Linked DNA regions of Homo sapiens: region 1 is linked to region 2. The links are contacts of gene promoters, found by promoter capture Hi-C in human tissues and cell types (Jung and others, 2019). All regions are on one chromosome and are shown on one strand. Each heading gives the region's core, a stretch centred on a gene start or on the middle of the fragment in contact. The rest is flanking DNA. Distances are from core to core; before and after follow the strand shown. Region 1 holds the start of ZNF792 (zinc finger protein 792). Region 2 holds the start of FXYD1 (FXYD domain containing ion transport regulator 1).

Evidence for each region. The method cuts DNA at HindIII sites, captures the fragments that hold promoters and counts their contacts. A contact is called where the count stands out against the background at its distance.
Region 1: the fragment with the promoter of ZNF792 here is called in contact with the fragment with the promoter of FXYD1 in region 2 in 1 of the 25 tissues and cell types used here (adrenal gland).

The regions. Positions count from the first base shown.
Region 1 is chr19:34,962,152-34,966,161 of GRCh38, forward strand. It overlaps ZNF792 (zinc finger protein 792), which reads right to left and starts at 2,078. Exons shown (of 4, transcript NM_175872.5): 1 at 1,479-2,078. The coding sequence starts at 1,511. It overlaps LOC124904699 (a long non-coding RNA gene), which reads left to right and starts at 1,275. Exons shown (of 2, transcript XR_007067236.1): 1 at 1,275-1,522. RefSeq lists silencers at 1,420-1,469, 1,580-1,839. The HindIII fragment of the contact is 10,198 bases long and covers 1-4,010 here.
Region 2 is chr19:35,136,881-35,140,906 of GRCh38, forward strand. FXYD1 (FXYD domain containing ion transport regulator 1) reads left to right here and starts at 1,944. Exons shown (of 8, transcript NM_021902.4): 1 at 1,944-2,014; 2 at 3,196-3,260; 3 at 3,717-3,749. The coding sequence starts at 3,200. The HindIII fragment of the contact is 30,870 bases long and covers 168-4,026 here.

The sequences.
Region 1 (4,010 bases), core at 828-3,327, 170 kb before region 2:
TGAAGTTTCACCTCCTAAATCTCACACACAGCTACACTCCCGTCCACACACCAGATGTCACATTTTGGATGTTTCTAACTGTTGAAATAAACAAAGACCAATGAAATGAGAAAAGCCAAGGCTACTTACTCAAAGCTCACTATAGCAAGAGAGACTCAATGCAAGCCGGGAGTGGGAGAGTTTTATAGCAAAAGAAAAGGAAGGCTTCAGGCGTGCCCTGGTTGGAGGCTCCTGTTCGTAGGTGGGTGAACTAGAAGTGGGCATCCTATGTGATTGGTTAGGGTGCGTATCTGCCTTTCTCTGGTTGTTCTTAAATCAGAAGCAGGAGCAAAAATGAGGAAAGCTGTCTGTTATTAATCAAACCCTGGCCATTTGGGACTGCTCATTACAGAAGTTATTGTTTTTACTTCCTGGATTGTCAGTCCAGATAGCAATCTGGCTTCCTGTGGGTCTGACAGACAGCAGGCTGGCTTCCTGCTGTATGGGTTGTTTATTGTAGATAAGGGGGTTGGTTTCCTGGGCAGGTTCTGGGGCAGAGTTCTATTTGTATACATGATCTGGCCATTGTTCGAATGAATATCCAGTCTCTCATTACCTTAACAACTCCCTCAGAACACCCGAACTGTGTGTTCAGCGGCCCACTCTTCAACTCCATTTGGGGGTCTCTGGGACATCACAGGCTCAACTTGGCCAAAACCTAACTTCTACTGCTTCCATGGAAAATTCCTCCTAAAACCAACTTCTCAGTTCATAAAGCTGGATTCATCAAACCAAAAACCATGGATTCTTCCCTCCTCTTTCTCACCCTCCACATCGGAAAATTTGGTCAGCTTGACTTAAAAGACATCAAGTTCCCAATCACTTCCTCTACCTCCAGTCCTCACTCTGGTCCGGCCAGCCGCAGCACTGGCCTGGGCTATTCCATTAGGCTACTCCTTGGCATCCCTGCTTGCGGCTCACTCCATATTCAGTTCTCCACTGTGCATCCACAGGGAGCCTGTTAAGACCTGAGTCACAGCATCTTCCTCCTCTGCCCTAAACCTTCCATGGCTCCCAACACCCTCAGAACAGAGGCCCAGCTCTGCCGTTCTGAGCTGTCTTCAGCCCACCTGCTCTCTGGTTCCAGCAGACATAATATTAATAACACTGACCTGGGTGGGGTTCCTTGAACACTCCCAACTCAGTCTCCACACCGTGCCCCACCCCACCCCCAAGCTTTTGCGCACGCTGGTTCCTGTGCCTACAAAGCCCTTTCTCCCTCCATCCCATTACATTTCAGCAACGGAAGCCACTTTATATAAACCCTGCCCTGATTCAGGATCCTAGCTGGGAGCAACTCCCTTCCAGGGTCCCCTGACTCAAAAGCAAGGAAATGGGAAAGGCGAAAAGTCCTAGAACAAAGCCATCTTTTGCGTCTCAACACCGAGAACAGAAGCGTGGGGGGCCGACAGCGAAGGGCCTAACGTCCAAGCACTCACCTGCGCGGGGTCCCGCAGCGCCGCCGCTGCCATCGGAGTCTGTGGTCAGAGCAGGGCCCCACGGTGCGGGAAACCACGGGGCGGGGGTAGGGGGTCTCGCAGGCTGAGGCTACCACCCACCTGGCCGTGCCCCAGACGAGGTGTGACCCCGGGCTGAGGGTCGCACTCCTAGCCTCAGTCTCCCCCGTGCAAAATGCGCAAGGGGCCCGGGGCGCAGGCTCCGGGGGCGCCGAGAGCGCGCAGCTCCGCTGGGTACCCCCGTTGCAAGGGGTCACGGCTGGTGCAAAGGCGCGGAGGGGGTCCCGGCCTCACTGTCCCCCTCGCGGTCCGGGAAAGCCGGCGGGGCAGCTTCACGGGCGTAGCCCCAGCCGCCCCGCCCCCAACTCGGGGTCCCCAGCTCCTGGGGACTCAGCCTCCCCGCCGGGAAATGACCTGCGAGGCTGCAGTGCAGGAAGTTCCGGCCCCCACCGTGGCGGCCGGGAGAGTTGCCCTCTCCCGTACTGTCATTGGCCTGGCGCCAGCCGCTGGTGCACAGGCAGGGCCTGGGGATCGCGAGTTTCTGCCCAGCCTCTCGTCAGGCTGAGGGTCCAGGGCGGGAAGGAGAGCGGATCTCGTCGGGTCTCCACCGCCGCCGCCTGCAGCCCTCGGGCCTTCCCCTTAAAGGGGCCGCTCCCGAGCCTGCAGCCGCCCGCGCTAAACCCCGCCCACCCTCCGAGGTCCAGGAGGAGAGCCCCAGTGCTCTTCCTGCGCGTGTGGGCATCGGCCAGCCGCTTCACCCCTAAGGGACCTAAATTCACACTGGAAAATGGGGATAGTACCCAATGGGCGGGGTCTTTGCGTTGTAATATTAAATGTCGCTCTGATTCAGGGCTTCTCAAACCAGCAACATCAGCATCACCTGGGGACTGGCTGAAAATGCAGGTTCTGGGGCAACAACTTAAATCTAAGGACTCAGAAATTCTGGGGATGGGATTCAGCCTTCTCTACTTTTTGCGGGGGGGGCGGGGGGGATGGGTCTCGTTCTGTTGTCCAGGCTGGAGTGCAGTGGCCTGATCATAGCTCACTGCAGCCTCCATCTCGGGCTCAAGCTATCCTCCTGCCTCAGCCTACCAGGTAGATGGGATACAGGCGTGCACCATCATACACAGCTAATTTTAAAATTTTTTGTAGAGACTGGATCTCCCTGTGATGCCTAGGCTGGTCTCAAACTCCTGAGCTCAAGTGATCCTCTCACCTCGGCCTCCCAAAGTGTTGGGAATTGCAGGAGTGAGCCATGGTGCCAGGCCTCCTTCTCTGTTTTAACAAGCCCTCTGGGGACTCCAATGCTGGCTCCAACTTTACAGCAGGGACTCTCATTGAAATCCAGTAAATAAAATGGGAAAAATAACACTACATTGTTGCAGGAAGTCAGGGACCCCGAACGGAGGGACCTGCTGAAGCCGTGACAGAAGAACATTAATTGTGAAGATTTCATGGACATTTATTAGTTCCCCAAATTAATACTTTTATAATTTCTTATGCCTGTCTTTACTGCAATCTCTGAACATAAATTGTGAAGATTTCATGGACATGTATCGCTTCCCCAATCAATACTCTTGTGATTTCCTATGCCTGACTTTACTTTAATCTCTTAATCCTGTCATCTTCGTAAGCTGAGGATGTATGTCATCTCAGGACCCTGTGATGATTGCGTTAACTGCACAGATTGTTTGTAGGGCATGTGTGTTTGAACAATATGAAATCTGGGCACCTTAAGAACAGGATAACAGCGATTTTCAGGGAACAAGGGAGATAACCTTAAAGTCTGGCTGCCTGTGGGACGGGCAGGACAGAGCCATATTTCTCCTATTACCAAAAACGGGTAAGAGAAATATCGCTGAATTCTTTCCCCAGTAAGGAATATTAATAATTAACAGCCCTGGGAAAATAATGCATTCCCAGGGCAGTGCCTCTAAAATGGCTGCCCTGGGAGTGTCTGCCTTATGCACATGTAGATAGGGATGAAACACACCCTAGTCTCCTGCAGCGCCCCCAGGCTTGCTAGGATTAGGAAATTCCAGCCTGGCGAACTCTAGTCAGACCAGTTCTCTGCTCTTGAACCCTGTTAAGATGTTTATAAATGACAATGCGTGCACAGCAGGACATGGAAGCTCATGAGTGATTCTAGTTTTGCCCTGACCTTGTGATCTCGCCCTGACCTTCTGCCTTGTGATCTTTTGTTGCCCTTAAAGCATGTGATCTCTGTGACCCACACCCTATTCGTACACTCCCTCCCCTTTGAAAATTGCCAATAAAAACTTGCTGGTTTTATGGCTCGGGGGCATCACGGAACCTGCTGACATGTGATGTCTCCCCCAGACACCCAGCTTTAAAATTTATCTCTTTTGTACTCTTTCCCTTTATTTCTCAGACCAGCCGACACTTAGGGAAAATAGAAAAGAACCCACATTGAATTATCGGGGGTGGGTTCCCCCGATACTACATGTCATATGGTGAAACCACCTTTGTAAAAATTATAACTGAGAAAATTAT
Region 2 (4,026 bases), core at 694-3,193:
GAGAAACCCCGACTGTACAAAAAATTAAAAAATTAGCCAGGCATGGTGTCGCACGCCCATAGTCCCAGCTACTCAGGAAGCTGAGGTGGGAGAATCACTTGAGCCCATGAGGTTGAGGCTACAGTGAGCTATGATTGTGCCATTGCACTTCAGCCTGGGTGACAGAGCAAGACCCGGTCTCAAACAAACAAACAAAAAATGAAGTTAATCATAAGACAATGTCAAGTTCAGAGACCTCTGAGCCCTGTCCAGGATTATACACGTGATCTTAGTGATTTTTCCATTTTGGAGCATGTGAAAATGAGGCACAGAGCTGCTCAAGTTCACACAACCAGGAGTGCAGTGCCTGGGCCATTCCAGGTTTCCCTGTCACCAGGACCTGTAAACCTGGCCTGCCCATGGGGACGCCAGGTGTGTTGTCCCCGACAAGAGCTCAGGGGAAGGAAAGTGTGGGGTTAAATACATATCTGTGGTTTTGGAATGTGTGAACATGCAAGTGTGTCAGCCTGCGCATCTGTCACCGTGGCCAACCATGTGCCTGTTTGCTCAAGCATAGGGTGTGAACCAGTGTGTGTGTTTCTGCTTTTGTGGGTATGTGTGAGAGCGGCGGGTTGTCCTTGATGGTGTTTCTGCTTGTGTATCTGTGCCCATGGAAATCTGTCTGTGTGTACACAAGCTTGTTGGCCTTCCTATCTTTGGGACCATGTAGGAGTGCTGGCTGCATGTCTGTACCTTTGGGGTTTTTTTGTTTTGTTTTTGTTTTTGAGACAGAGTCTCGCTCTGTTGCCCAGGCTAGAGTGCAGTGGCATGATCTCAGCTCACTGCAAGCTCTGCCTCCCGGGCTCAAGTGACTCTCCTGCCTCAGCCTCCGGAGTAGCCGTGATTACAGGCGCACGCCACCACACCCAGCTAATTTTTGTATATTTTTTTAGTAGAGACGAGCTCTCGTCGGGTTGGCCAGGCTGGTGTTGAACTCCTGGCCTCAAGTGATCCTCCCGCCTTGGCCTCCCAAAGTGCTGGGAGTACAGGTGTGAGCCACCGTACCTGGCCATGTTTGGCCATGCATCTTAGAATGCATTTATGTGCGGTGTGCACATACTTGTGTGTTTCTGTATGGCCATTTGTGGGTGGGTCTTCACATAAACATGCATTTTTGTGGCCAGTTTGTGAGTGTAGATGGTGATGTGGCTATGTCTTTGACTGTATCTCTGTGTGGCCATCCATCTACATGAGCGTGCGTGGGTCTGTGTAGACATAAATGTGCTTGTTCTGGTATTTTGTGACTGGCATAAAAGGTGTTGGCTGTGTGTCCGGGTCTTTGGGTTTCTCTATCAGTGTGTCATTCTGTGTGTGTCTGCTTCTATGGATGTACATACATACATGGTTTTGTCTGGTTTTGTACCTGTATATCTGGGTCTTTGGGATTGTGTGTGGGTGTGTGTGTGTGGTGCATTTCTGGGGATCTCACCACAGCAGATAGCGCACATGCGCGCGCACACACACACACACACACACACCTCCCTCCCGTCCTCTAAAACAGCCCTGTTAAGGACCTCACGGAGCACTGGGATCGGGGGTCAGTGGGCTCCTGGGCAGTCAGGCTGGGTGACCTTCGGCCCTGGCTGGACCCAGTTCCCAGGGGGCAGCCGCCTCAGCCCAAAAGCTCTTGGAGGCGTGTGTGTTTGTGTGTGTGTGTGTTCACAACCCTGTCCTCCACAATCCTCCTAGCCTCTCCAGCCTGCCTGCTGGCTGCCTGCTGCTGCTCTCTCTGAACTGAGAGAGTTAACCAAGCGGGCCAGGGCAGTCTGGGCTGGGGGCCGCCCCCTGGCCCCCCTCCAGCCCCAGCTCCAGTTTCAGCTGCTGGTTGGGGAGGGCATGGGTGGGGTGGGGCTGGGAGGGGAGGCTGCTGGGGGCGGCGCGTCCAGCTCTGGGCCAGGGGGTCCAAAGTGCTCAGCCCCCGGGGCACAGCAGGACGTTTGGGGGCCTTCTTTCAGCAGGGGACAGCCCGATTGGGGTGAGCGTCCCCCACTCCTTCCCTCCAGGCCTCACCCCTGGTCTGGCTGGGCCGCCTATTTTGGGAGCAGGAGTGGCCAGCCCGAGGCTTCCCAGGCAGGCCAACCCAAGAGGGAGGGAGTGTGGTTGAGGCAGTGGGTTCTGCAGGGTGGGATGTGGGTGACTCCTCCCTGCCCTGCTGGTGCGTGTGCACCCTGGCAGGGTGTGGAGTTGGGACACACACGTGTGTAGGGCTGGTTGCGTCACTGCGTGGGGGCACCGGAGGCCCAGAGGAGGAGTATTGGATGCCTGACGGTGTTTACACCCCACGTCCTGCTCCAACCAGCAGTTTGGGGAGAGGTTGTTGTTCATGTCCATTCCGGCCCCACTGTGTGTGTGTGTGTGTGTGTGTGTGTGTGTGTGTGTGTGTATCCCTGCCCCAGCATGTGTTTTCTATCTCTAAGGCCCACTGGGCTGGGCCTCATGTCACTTGCCTGACATCCGATTGTGAAAGATGTCACCCAGAGGCGGGCAGAGGGGCTGTCTTTTCCTTTTCTCGTTGCTGCCCAGGGAGGAGACGGGGTGACCTTTCCCACAGGGGCAGCCTGTGGCGATGTGGCAGCTGGGCCTCACCCCGGCAGGGCTGTGCGTGACCCCCTGAGTGGGGGAAGGCAGGCTGTTGCCATGGTGGCCTGAGCGAGCAGAATTCCTCCAGGGTGAAGTGGGAGATATTTATACCCGGGGTCAGGCCGCGAGCGGGCGGGCGGAGAGGGCAGGGAGCTGGGATTTCGCGGGGCACAGTGAGGCCGGGCATGTAGGCAGGTGGGACTTGGGCGTGCCCTGCTGTCTCCTGCTCTGTGTTTGTGTGAGGCAGCGCCTCCTCTGCCCTGCCAGGGTAGGTCTGGGAATCGGGGGCCTGCTGCGGGAGGTGGAGGCCCAAGGGAGGCCCCCCGGGGACTGTGTGTCTCACCCCCGTCCCTGCTACGTTGTGTTGTTGTGTGATCCCATCGTGGAGGTTGTTTTGGTGACACTGTGTCCCCACGAAGCTGGGGATACCCGTTTCTCTAGCTTGGAGCCACCAAGATAGAGGACAAACACTTCTGTGATTCAGTCCCCAGACTGTCTCTGACTTAATCCCTTGGGTTCAAGCCCTATGTGGGAGAGCAAGGGCACACACTGCCTAATCCGTGGTGTCCCCCCCAGGACAATGGCGTCTCTTGGCCACATCTTGGTTTTCTGTGTGGGTCTCCTCACCATGGCCAAGGCAGGTGAGTGCAGGGGAGGCTGCCCGCTACCCACCTCAGCCCCAGGGGTGGCGGTGGGGACCGAAGAACCAAGTTGGAGACCCCAACCTAGACTAAGTCGGCTGGGGTACCAAGAAGTTTGGGGGTCTCCACGTGGGGTCCAGTCACAGGCTGGTATTTGGGGGAGGGGAGAGGAAGCCCCAGATCAGGCAAAGATGGGGTGGGATGGGGCTGAATCCCCGATGGGATAACTGGGTCACAGACAGCCTGCCGTGAGTCAGGGAGCTGGGGCAGTTAGGTGCCACCTGCCCCATCTGGGACAGTGCAGAGGGGGCAGCTGGGACCCAGAGAGTGTGGGCAGCCTGCCCAGACACCCTCAGACTCTAAGCCCAGCAAGGCAGAGCCTCCAGTGGTCTCCTCATGCCCCTCCCTGCCAGGACCCCAGGAAGCATTCAACCCCTGATTTCTCTCTCTTTCCAGAAAGTCCAAAGGAACACGACCCGTTCACTTACGGTGAGCGGGGGGTCTAATTTTGAGTCCTGGGGGAGAGCCTGGCTTTGCTGGTCCTTTGATTCCCCCTCGCCCTCCCCCAGAGTCCCAGTATTGATATCTCTGTCATTCTCCTTCCCTCTATTTTGTCCTTCCTCTCTGATTCCACCTGTCTGCATCTTTTCCTGTCTGTGTCTATCTGTGTCACTGTCTATGTGATACCTCTCTGGTTCTCTTTCTCTTGCCTGCGTCTGTCTCAGCATCTCGTGGCCCATCCTCTGCTTCTTCCCGTCTTCTCTCC